Linked DNA regions of Homo sapiens: all the other regions are linked to region 3. Evidence: promoter capture Hi-C in 16 types of primary human blood cells and fetal thymus (Javierre and others, 2016). All regions are on one chromosome and are shown on one strand. Each heading gives the region's core, a stretch centred on a gene start or on the middle of the fragment in contact. The rest is flanking DNA. Distances are from core to core; before and after follow the strand shown.

The links. Contacts are between HindIII fragments. The CHiCAGO score rates a contact against its expected background, and 5 or more counts as called.
Region 1: the fragment with the promoter of USPL1 here is called in contact with the fragment with the promoter of MTIF3 in region 3 in 3 of 17 cell types (non-activated CD4 T cells, naive CD4 T cells and fetal thymus); the score reaches 6.5 in non-activated CD4 T cells.
Region 2: the fragment with the promoter of HSPH1 here is called in contact with the fragment with the promoter of MTIF3 in region 3 in 1 of 17 cell types (non-activated CD4 T cells); the score reaches 6.4 in non-activated CD4 T cells.
Region 4: the fragment with the promoter of SPATA13-AS1 here is called in contact with the fragment with the promoter of MTIF3 in region 3 in 1 of 17 cell types (non-activated CD4 T cells); the score reaches 6.5 in non-activated CD4 T cells.

Annotation. Positions count from the first base shown.
Region 1 is chr13:30,616,646-30,619,345 of GRCh38, reverse strand. USPL1 (ubiquitin specific peptidase like 1) reads right to left here and starts at 1,426. Exons shown (of 9, transcript NM_005800.5): 1 at 1,290-1,426. It also overlaps a transcript of HMGB1 not described here. RefSeq lists enhancers at 1,349-1,398, 1,419-1,748, 1,799-1,938, 1,959-2,028. The HindIII fragment of the contact is 4,577 bases long and covers 1-2,700 here.
Region 2 is chr13:31,160,444-31,163,165 of GRCh38, reverse strand. HSPH1 (heat shock protein family H (Hsp110) member 1) reads left to right here and starts at 1,262. Exons shown (of 18, transcript NM_006644.4): 1 at 1,262-1,690. The coding sequence starts at 1,584. LOC105370148 (a long non-coding RNA gene) reads right to left here and starts at 506. Exons shown (of 3, transcript XR_941825.3): 1 at 1-506. RefSeq lists enhancers at 636-905, 1,136-1,255, 1,386-1,465, 1,077-1,622, 1,623-2,168. The HindIII fragment of the contact is 12,297 bases long and covers 1-2,209 here.
Region 3 is chr13:27,449,139-27,451,838 of GRCh38, reverse strand. MTIF3 (mitochondrial translational initiation factor 3) reads left to right here and starts at 1,275. Exons shown (of 5, transcript NM_152912.5): 1 at 1,275-1,330. RefSeq lists enhancers at 841-900, 921-1,280, 1,124-2,038. The HindIII fragment of the contact is 2,682 bases long and covers 450-2,700 here.
Region 4 is chr13:24,253,057-24,255,756 of GRCh38, reverse strand. SPATA13-AS1 (SPATA13 antisense RNA 1) reads left to right here and starts at 1,318. Exons shown (of 3, transcript NR_046531.1): 1 at 1,318-1,421; 2 at 2,558-2,678. The region is part of intron 4 of SPATA13 (spermatogenesis associated 13); the gene reads right to left. The HindIII fragment of the contact is 5,552 bases long and covers 1-2,700 here.

The DNA.
Region 1 (2,700 bases), core at 177-2,676, 3.2 Mb before region 3:
GGTTGAAATCCCGAATATATAGAATCCCCCAAAAGAAAATTCATTTAATACCAGAGGTTTATTTGTCCATATGAGGGACATAAAAAAAATACCAGAGGTGGGCTCCCCAGTTCTTCTTCCAAATACAATTCACTTTGACTTACATACAAAATCCCGGGGGGGATTTTACAACTTAATTTGACCCTAAGTAACTGCTCTTCCTCCCTTCAAAAACAATCTGCTCCTCCTTCCCATATCTCACTTAAATGTGGGCGTCTCCATCCTTCCAAACACACAGACTAGAAAGTCTTGAGTTGTTCCCTATTCTTTATTTCCCTCTTCGCACAGTAAGTCACCAAATTCTGTGGACAGTTCTTTGGAAAGGTCTCAAATCTCTACCTCTTTCCCTTCCATATCACTGTCAAAATGATGCCTCTACAAGTCTGAGCCTGTCAATGCTTAGTTTAAAATTCTCTATTTACTCTAGCCTGATTACAGCAAACTCCGTCCAAACAGCCCAATATAACCTAAAGGTAGTATTATGACCTAAAGCTCATTGTACTGTGAAACCAACCTAGCTTTCCAGTTCTGTCTTCCTCAACTCTACTTCACCCCCAGCATCTTTCTTCTAACATCCCCTTTTCATACTTCTGTGAACCACTTATACTCCAGAAGCCTTAATGTGAATTATTAGCCCAGCATGAACCCAGTTAGATAGCACAATGAACGTGTCAAGGTGGCCCTGGGAATCGCAAAAAGTATTCAATTAAACTTAATTCACACTCCTGTGTGCAAAATGGAGAAACCCAGGGAAACAGCTGTTCGAAGAGGGGGCCTTAAACCCACCCATTTGAGCTCGCCCTCCGAGAGCGAGTAGGCTCGGCACGTGAACTGTCAAAAGCGAGGCCACAACCGACCTGGAAGCCGAGGAACAGGGTCAGCTTTCTGCACCCAGCCCTGTCAGGTACCAAACCCAACTGTCTTGAATCAGAGACGAACAGGACCAAAGGAGGTGAGTTTCAACACCCAAACTAAGAAGCCGAAGGAGGCGCAGGGTCCGTTAACCCTGCCCATCTCCACGCTCCTTGGAAAACGAAAACAAACTCTGGTTTCTCTTCAGCGTTCACCTCTCTGCGCCCAAACGGATCTGTAAGTCCAACTCTATACCTTAATCATCAACCTTTCCCACTTGAACCCCGTCCCAGCCCAGCCCATCCTTTCAGCGCGCCGACTACCCCATAGGTCATCCCAGCTCTGTCTCTTTTCCCAATTTCGAGAGCGGAAAGAAACCCCTCCCTCTTCTCCCTTACCTGCCGCGGGCACTCCCCTTCTTGGTACCGGGTCGATCGGAACTCCTGTTCCAGCTTGATCTCCACCCTAGTTGCAACGTTCAACCCACGTTCCCCTCGGACTGCTCCTCCCCCACTCGCGTCTCCACTAGGAAGGCGGCTTCCGGCTTGAGTCCGCGGCAAAAGAGTCCTCCTTCCTGCTGCACGCTGGGCCTGAAAGGACGGTGGCGTGGCGGGGAAGGTGAAGACGTGAGCACTTCCGGTCGCCCTCCGCAGAGGCGTGGCTGTCCGCCCTGTGGCCGCAGACGCAGTTGCGACTGCGGCGACGAGGAGGGGCGGGGCCGGTGGCTGCTGAGCCCGCCATGTGTGAGTGGCTGGGTTTGGGGAGGCGACGTTTCTGGAAGCTGCTGGAAAGCGCCCGAGTGGCGGAGGTGGCGCCAGCGGCCAGGGGGTGGGGCGTGATTAAAACTAGTGCGCGGCTTTCTGCGGAGGGATTACGCTGACGAAAGAGACCTGCTTGCGCGTCGCTGTTCCGTGGTCCGCGCGAGCGTGGTCGGGAGCCGCTGGTTCCTGGGGTGACCCGCGGAGGTGGGAGAGGGAAGGGCTTCCGAAGCCGGCGGGGGTGCCATGGACCCTCTCCGCCGGCGCGGCCTTCACAGCTGGGCCGCGCCGGGCATCCGTAGTCCGCTCTCCCAAAGCCTCGGTGGAGCTGAAGCTGCCACAGAGTGCATGTTCACAAAGGGTCATCACACACGGAGCTGCCCCTCCCTGTCTCCCTAGAGCCCATCTTCGAGGCCAGGGGCTTTTCTACCAGGATTCTGGGGTGTTTCTCCTCCTTTCCTCCCTCCCAGATCTTCTCACGGTAAGGGGAGCAGCGAAAGCGCAGGGACTTTGCATTCCACGACCCGTTCTGACTAGTCAACAGCCGATCTGTCCCTGCTGCTCTAATTCCAGCTGCCCTGCCTTGTTTTAACTTCAGAGAAAGGGGGAGTTCTCATTTGATAAGTTTAAGCCTTTGCTTTCGTAGGAAGGTCATGTGGCTTAAGGGACATCGTGACCGCGTATGCTATTTCTGCCTGTGCATTCTAAATCTTGGGGGCAGCATATTCCAGAAGTCCTTTTGGTCGATTGGTTCTGTGTCCTAGGATAACAATTTGTAGTTTCTGACCATTTCTTTACAGAAAAACCACAATTGGTATTTTGGACTGCGGGGTTTTTTAGTGGTCTCAAACTAAATGATTATATTCTGGAATAATGCTGACAATTTGGATAGGGTGGTGTGGAGGAAACAAGTCTCGTGTAGAAGAAATTATTTAGTAAAAAGGATTTTAGTTTTTGGTACTTCTGAATGCAAATGGCCAAGGAATCCAGCAGTTTGTTGGGGTTTCTCCAGACAAAAATAGGCTGGTTAGTTTGTTTACCTTTTTCTGTT
Region 2 (2,722 bases), core at 13-2,512, 3.7 Mb before region 3:
AGGAGGAATTCCCATACTCTTTATGAGTTAGATTTTTCTAACTTTAGGTTACAACTCCTTATTCAATTACACGCTTATCCAATAACATATTTGAACTGTGCTTATACTTCCACATGCCTGACATAAGGTAAACTCAGGGATCAGAAGCAAACTTAAAAAGACACAAAAGGGTATAAAAGACCTGATAAGTTATCAGCAACACAGTTCCACCTTTTCTTACACTGTCTCTTTACTGAACAAAAGTTAACGGGGACATCGCTTCTGAGGGAAAGAAACAAAAGCTGCTTCAGATCAAACAAAAAGCAAAACTTACACACAGTACCAATTTATGGCTAGGAGTGGCAGGGTAGAACAGCGTCGGCTTAAATCAGACCTTTTAAAAATAAGCAGAAAGTGATACCGTGGACAGCCTGCCAAATGACGTCACAACTAAAAATCGATTTCTTAAAAAAAAAAACACCTGACATTTTACTCCACAAGAGATCATCCTGCTGCCTGATGAATACAAGAACACTTAACACAACCCCTTTGCTTTTATTATAAGCGGTTTGAACTGGTGTTCCTTCTCCTAAGTCGTAACGCACCAGTTGTCGGGGTAATCCAGACAATAATAGAAGTGAATACAAAACAAACGAACAAAATGACGCTTATTGCCAGGGAACCCGCGCAAAAGCGCCAGACAAAACCCTACCCAGCCTCTCTCGCGAGTCCCAGAAGACAAAGCCGGGTCCCAGCAAGCACTGCGGCCAGGACTACACATCCCAGCATGCAAGGCGCACACTTCTCCCAGCGGGACTACGATTCCCAACATGCTCTCCGGACAGCTGGCCGGCCTCCCCACCATCCCGGTGTCTGGGGTCTCTGCAAAAATGGGGTCTGTCTCCGCCCGCCCAGCCTCCCTTTAGCGTTAAGGATCGGACACCACCTCCCGGTAGTAAATTGTGACTATTCCGAGTTTTGGAGTCATTCTTCGTTGCCTGTTTTATTAGGGCAGCAAAACGCCTGTGGCTAGGGCGGGAGTGGGCGGAGGCAGGTTTGAGCCAATGGCACGGGAGCGGCCCTGTCGCTGCCATGGCAACGGCGGCCGTTCTCCGGGGACCGGCTGCCCATTGGGTAGAATCTTTCCAGAAGGCTCGAGAAGAAGGAAGCGGAAGTGGCACGTGGAGGGGCCGGTGGAGGCGCCGGTGAGTAAATGCCGCAGATTCTGGAAAGTTCTGATCAGTGCGATACATAAGGCTGAGGAAGTGGGACCTCCCCTTTTGGGTCGGTAGTTCAGCGCCGGCGCCGGTGTGCGAGCCGCGGCAGAGTGAGGCAGGCAACCCGAGGTGCGGAGCGACCTGCGGAGGCTGAGCCCCGCTTTCTCCCAGGGTTTCTTATCAGCCAGCCGCCGCTGTCCCCGGGGGAGTAGGAGGCTCCTGACAGGCCGCGGCTGTCTGTGTGTCCTTCTGAGTGTCAGAGGAACGGCCAGACCCCGCGGGCCGGAGCAGAACGCGGCCAGGGCAGAAAGCGGCGGCAGGAGAAGCAGGCAGGGGGCCGGAGGACGCAGACCGAGACCCGAGGCGGAGGCGGACCGCGAGCCGGCCATGTCGGTGGTGGGGTTGGACGTGGGCTCGCAGAGCTGCTACATCGCGGTAGCCCGGGCCGGGGGCATCGAGACCATCGCCAATGAGTTCAGCGACCGGTGCACCCCGTAAGTGGGAGTCTGCGAGGGTGGATGGGAGGAGGTTCTGGGCCCTTAGTGTGGGGACCCAAGATCGCGGGCTGGCTGTACGGATCACCGCGGCAAACGGAGGCGTTTGGGCAGCGGCGCACCCCTCCGTGGAACTAGGGACCAGCGACCCGGCCAGAGGAGGGATGGGGGGCTTGCCATCACAAATTGGAGAAGGGATTGTCTCAGGGATTCACGGGGGTGAGAGGAGTCCCAGAGTCGAGACTCTAAGGGTCGTCACCTTGTGCGGGCTTCCTATTGGGGGTTTTCAAAACCTACTGGGGGTCGGGCTGCGGCAAAGCCCGCAACTTCGCTCCCTTTTCTTGGCAGGCTGCAGCCTGCGCCTTCCGCGGCCGCCCCCGTATCCCCACCCGGCCTCTCTGAGCTGGCTGAGCCGCCTCCAGCTTGTCCTCCTCCCTTCGCGCATATCTTTGCGCACCGCGGAGCGGGGCTGCCGGCCTTTTTCTTCCGCATTGTGAATCTCGAAATGAACTGGAAGCTTCCAGAGCTTGTGTCGCTGCTTGTCCAGTGAGCAGGCGGATTGTTGTTAGCGACCACGGAAGCAGTCCTATGAAAGATTAGCCCACCTCTTTTTACCCAGTCTCTTCGTTGCTAACATTGTTGGCCTTAATGCCCGGGATCATTGTCGAAAGATGTAAACGTCTTTTTTTTTGCTCTTTGCCATTCATGAGGAATTGTAAACCGTATTTTTAAAATTAATTTTGCACAGTTTATTTAAAAGAGAATAAAAATTGCATACTTTTGTGCTAGGACGCCAAAAGAGGATGGATGTCGTCACTGAACTAAATATTCTATAGGAGCATAGGGTGGGCAAAGGGCAACATTTTAAAAAGCAAGTTTCGTGAAGGGATATTTTCGGACGAGAATATATACAAACATATCTGCATGTGCATTGATGAAAACAAATGATTTCATCTCAAGGAAAATACTGTACCTATTAATTTTTTTCAAATGTCCCAAGCTCAGGATGAAAAGTGCAAAATGAAAACATTG
Region 3 (2,700 bases), core at 26-2,525:
TGTGCGACCTTGGGCAAATTTGTTTCAGTTCCCTCATCTGTAAAATGGGTAATAATAATAATTGGCTCATAAGGTTGTCCTGAAGATTGAATAACTTGAGATATGTTCAGTGCGTAGAACAGTGTCTGGCACATAGGCAAAAGCAATCACAAATGTGGGCAATTATAATTGCTGAGCACCTAACTTTTCCCAGGTATTGTGCTACTCAGTCTGTCCCCGAATCTACGTCACACAAAATATCTTGGCATTGAGAAATAATTTTGATAGAATAAAATGAATCCTTAATTCTTCTTGATTAACTTGGAAATGGCCAAGATGCACACCTGGACTTTCGGTCTCACACAAGAGTTGTTTCATTACCTCCCTATTTTAACAGTGAGCGTCGAGCTACCAGCAGCTAAAAAGGAAATGGAGATTTCGTCTTTGCTCCCAAAGAACTATTTAAAGCTTTAGTAGTTGTGTCATCTGTAATAAAAGACGTAATGCTGACTCAAGGAGTTAATGAGAAATAAGACAACGCCTTCCAGTGGACAAGTAGCCAATAAATGTTAGTTTTTCTTCGTACCAGGAATCCAAACATTCCAGGTATGAAGCCAGATTAGGTGGCTTCACGACTGTGGACTCGCAGTCTGCCCTTGAGGAATTTCTTATTGAAGAAGAAAAAGAGGGGGGACACGGGGCCCAGACCCCCAGCACCCGGCTTTCGAGCAGGCTCCACGGGTCCGGGTCCGGGTCCGTTTTCCCTTTCGCCAGCTGGGGCCCCGTTCGAACCTCTCCCAACTACAACGCGGAGGCTCCGACGCCCCGGCCCCAGCTTTGTTTTGCCTCCGGGAGCCGCGCGCCACCGGGGACCCGCGGGGAGCCGTTCTCACTCCGAAGCTGTCTGCTCACCTGCAAATCGGAGACAGCGCCCTTTCACTTACGATCCTTATAAAAGACGCTTATAAAACATTTTATTCAGTGTTACATTAAAAAGACGTTTATGAAAGCAATTTATAAAGCCCTAGTGGGAGACCGAGATTGGTGTTAATGTAACTGGAGTAAGGGCTGCTCCGATTGCTGCAGAAATTCGACATTAGCCTTCACCGCACCTGCGGAGCAGCGGGAGCCAGGTGAGCAGCAATTTCCCCTCAGGGACTTCCTCCGCGTTCTCCGCATTTTCTGTCGGCGGAACTGAATCCCAACAGTAGAAAAACGTGGCTCCGCCCATCACCTTTCCTTTAAAGGACGCGGGGTGAAGCCCCGCCCACTACGGAGAGCGAAGGGGACTCGCCGCAGATCCGCTGTACTTGCGTCCGCTACAGTATGTCAATCGCTTGCCCCAGCACAGGTAATGCTAAATATGAGGCGTGCGGAGCGGTGCGCGGACCGGCATCGGGAGGGCGTGGCCTTAGGGGGCGCCCCTGTGGAGGAGGCACCCGGAAGGTCAGGGCTACCCCGTCCCGCCGGTACCGAGGGCGGAGAGGCTCCGCAGGTCCTGCTGCGGAGTCGGAGGGTTCTGCCGGGCTGTAAAGCCATTTTCAGCGAGGCCGCTGCACGAACTTCCGAGGGATGTTAGACCTAGAGTTGCCGCCAGCCCCACTGAGCTTTTCTAGTTCCGTCCCGACATGCGCGCCCTCGTTTGTGCGCACGCACGCACGCAGTACGTCGCTACGTCCCGTCTCTAGCCCTGGCGCTCCGCCGGTCCCGTTCTGCAGGTGGGCGTCGCCGCCGACTTACCAACAACCGGGTCGGGGGCTCCCGGAAGTGCTCTTGCGGCTTACTGCCTGGCACAGGTGGGGCAGAGCGAGCCAGGCGAAGGGCGCCTGCGCAGGACATGCTGGACAAATGCGTTGTTCTTGCTGCCTGCTGTTGCGGGAGGAGGCCTTATGGGGGAAGGTCGCGAAGTGACTGGGATTTTTTTTCTCATTTGTCATTTAGTGGGCTCCGTGGCTTAAGACTTGAACCAAGTAAACGAAGTTCTCTTACTGAGAAGTCTCAGTTTCAAGTACGTGTTGTGAAAGGCCTAAGTCTTAGAAAAGTAGAGGATGGAGAGAAGAATCTGAAAATCGACTACTATTCATTCTGTCAGGCACAACACAGTAACGAATAAGTCCATTTTGTTCCTGCTTCGTAGAGTTTACGGTCTAGTGATGGAGAACAGCAGTGCTAAGATCATCACAAAACTGTAATTGTAATGAATGTTTTAAAGGAAAGGTCAACTGGACTGTAGAAGCATTCAGTGTTAAGCTCAGTAAATTGGGGGAGGGATGGGAGAACTGGCTTAGTTTGGAAGGTAATCAGAAGAATGCGCTAAGGATCTGGCGTTTCCTAAACCAAGGACGAGAGTACTGTATTTCAAAAACCGAATGGCCAGTGTGGCCTAGGCATAAAGAAGAAACTGGAGAGGTGGGAAGGGCCTTTTGGCCTGGCGAAGGTGTAGATCTTTAATCTCGGGGCAGTTTTATTTAAGGTGAGGAAGGTCCTGGGTGTAGTGACCGCAGTGCAGTGGGAACTGGTTGCCAGGGCTCAAGCCGAGTTAGGAGACTGGCAGGAATCCAAACGAGGTGGTCGATGTTTTAAACTGACGGTGGTGACAGTGGATACGGAGAGGACTGGATGGATTCGAGTGGGGTTTAGGAAATGAAGTCGATGAGGCTTGGTGTTGGGTTGACTGGGAAAGTGGAGGCGTCAAAGGTGTCTTGGAGGTGACTGGAGGTT
Region 4 (2,700 bases), core at 69-2,568, 3.2 Mb after region 3:
AAGGAGTTCCAGGACTGGGATGGAAATGCTAGAGATGGTCTATCATGTGAGTCTCACCACCCCTTGGGCTGCATCTCCCATGTGACAGCAGCTTTTATAATTAATGTACTGCTAATCTCTCTAGGCCAGAGATGCTGCTGAGAGATGGTTCCACTGCAATGCAAACCTGGTCCTCCATGGGGGTGGGACATCTGTCATGGGAAAAAGGTGGGCATAGTTACTATACCACACAGCAGGGCCAGCTTGGTCATCTGAATGGTTTGACCTGTGAAATCTCTGGTTGTGCTGTTAACTGATCTCGGGGTCCCCAGGAACAAAACAGATGAGTGATTCCACAAAGGTACCACAACATTGTGTAGGAGGAACTCTCCAGGGCTGGCAAGCAGAGCCCGACCTGAGCCACCATGACAGAGAAGACAAGGGAGGGCCCTCACTCAACTCCCAGACTCAGGCCTCTTGATGGAGCAGAGCCAGGGAGCCTCAGGGTAGGCATCCTACTACAAGTCTTCTTCCTAGCTTCTCAAAGAGAACTCCTACCATCAGCCTGGTGACTGTGTCCTCAGGACAGGGAAACTCCCGGCGGCAAATGTAAGCAATACTCTTCCCAAGCCTTTCTGAGTAGGAGAGATGGCTTTGGCAAGGCAAGGATTTAGCTCGTGCGCACTCCTGGTTAGGAGCTAATGGCCTGGCTGAATGGCCTGGAGGAATGTGGAAAGAACAAGATGGGCTGAGGATGGGTTTGGGGAAGGAGTATAACTGGCTACCTCAGAATACCCGCAGAGCATGAGATGATGTCCATCCTACATGAATCCTTATTGCAAGAGAGGCTAATCAATCATCATGTGGACATGCTGTCCCAATGTGCAGCTAGATGCCAGTCTTCCTTCCTAGTCATCTTGATACTTGCTCAGTGGGTTCATAAAAAGGAAAAAAAAAAAGAAGCAAGCAAGAAAAAGGCCATGGTGGCAAAAATGGATGCCAAGCCTGGGCTAAACCACAGGAAGTCTGGGCCTTCCCCTCAACAAAGCTGATGATACGGTTCCCCGCAGGAACCAGACAGCCCCTTGCGGAAAGCTGATTGCAGTGGGGCCTTTTCATAATAGAGGGGGTGGTGATTTGTCCCTACTGGAAGGGCCACTTATGCTGGGCTTGGATTTGTTTTCCTGCACTCTGTGGATCCTCTAGAAGGCCCCTATCCTGTCGCAGCATCTCACACGCCATCCAGGCCCAGAACGTCACAGAGAAGGAAGCACATGACCCCATCACACCCAATAACAACCAAATAAAAATGAAGTTACAGAGGCAGCTGGGAGACACACCCAGAAGTTGCCATACTGCCCTGGATGGGACGCAAGCTCTGAAGCAGTGACTAATTTGGAGAGGCTGGCCCACAGCAGAAGATGCAGGGCCGGAAACCAAGGGTAAACATAGAAGCGGCTTCTTAGGATTACTTAATAATATACTTGCAAAATGTTTTCTTCCCACCTAGGAACTCTGCTCTGTTGAAACTGAATTTAGTGCCCAAGGGAGAAGTACTTCCTCCAGAGTTCACAGTCCTGGCCACAGTGAATCAGAACCAAGGCTGGCCATTTTTGCCTCTTCGTACCACTGGGAAAATGAGCACCCACGGAAAATGGGGATGGCTTTTGTGGTCACTGCTACCATATTTCTCAAATGGACTAATGCAATCGCCTTCAAATCAATCTCCATTCCTCTTCCTTTCCCCCCACAAACTGCCCTCCCTCTCTAAGCATAAACCGGAACATAATATGCTCCTGCTGCCAATGGCTTCACACCACACTTAGAACAAGCTCAGCCTCCTCATGACCTGCAGAGCCCTTTCCAGCCTCAGCCCACCTCCCAGCCTGCAACATCCTCGTCTGCCTCTTGCTCCCTGAGCTCCTGTCACTGTGGCCTCCTTGCTGAACCTCAGACACATCATGTTTCCTGCCTGTCTTTGGGCTTCTGGTGCTCCTTCGGCTAGGACTTCTCCTCCCTCGGATCTCTGCCTCACTGCCTCCTACTCACCTGTCCCCAGCGTCACCTCCTTGGAGAGGAGGCTATCTCCCCCACCTGCTCCTACTCCTCACATTACCCAAAGTCATCTTCTGCAGGGCCGTCACTGGTGCCTTGGTGCATCCTACATATTGACTTATGGAATCTGTTCAAATGCTGAAATGTAAACTTTGCATGACGTTTTATTCTCCACAGCATCCCAAATTCTCTATTTCCTTCCTTTCCCTGCCTTGCCATTCTGGTAGGGATGTGTTGCTTAAATCTGCCTCTAGTTAATCAACGCTGAAGAGGCACTGCATGGAACTGGAGGACTAGTTATCCTAAGAGGTCCTAGACTTGGAGGTGTCTGCTGCCACTGATGAGGATCTGGGTGTCTCCTTCTAGGGAAGAGAGAGAGGGTTCATGGAACAGGTGCATCCTGTTCATTAGAGTGTCATTAGAATAACACTCTTTGGAAATGAATGCTCTCTATCCTGTTTTATTTTTCTTTATAGTACTGTCTGCTCTGTTAAATACTTACTTGGCCTGTCTTCACATATAGAAGGCAAGGGTCCCTGGAGACAGACACCCCACCCTTCTTCCTGTTCCAGTACCACCAGGTGGTGGACATATCACCTAAGCTCGGACAGCTGAATCTTCCATCCTGGGACCTGAACCCCTGGGTGAGTGACAGAAAGACAGTCA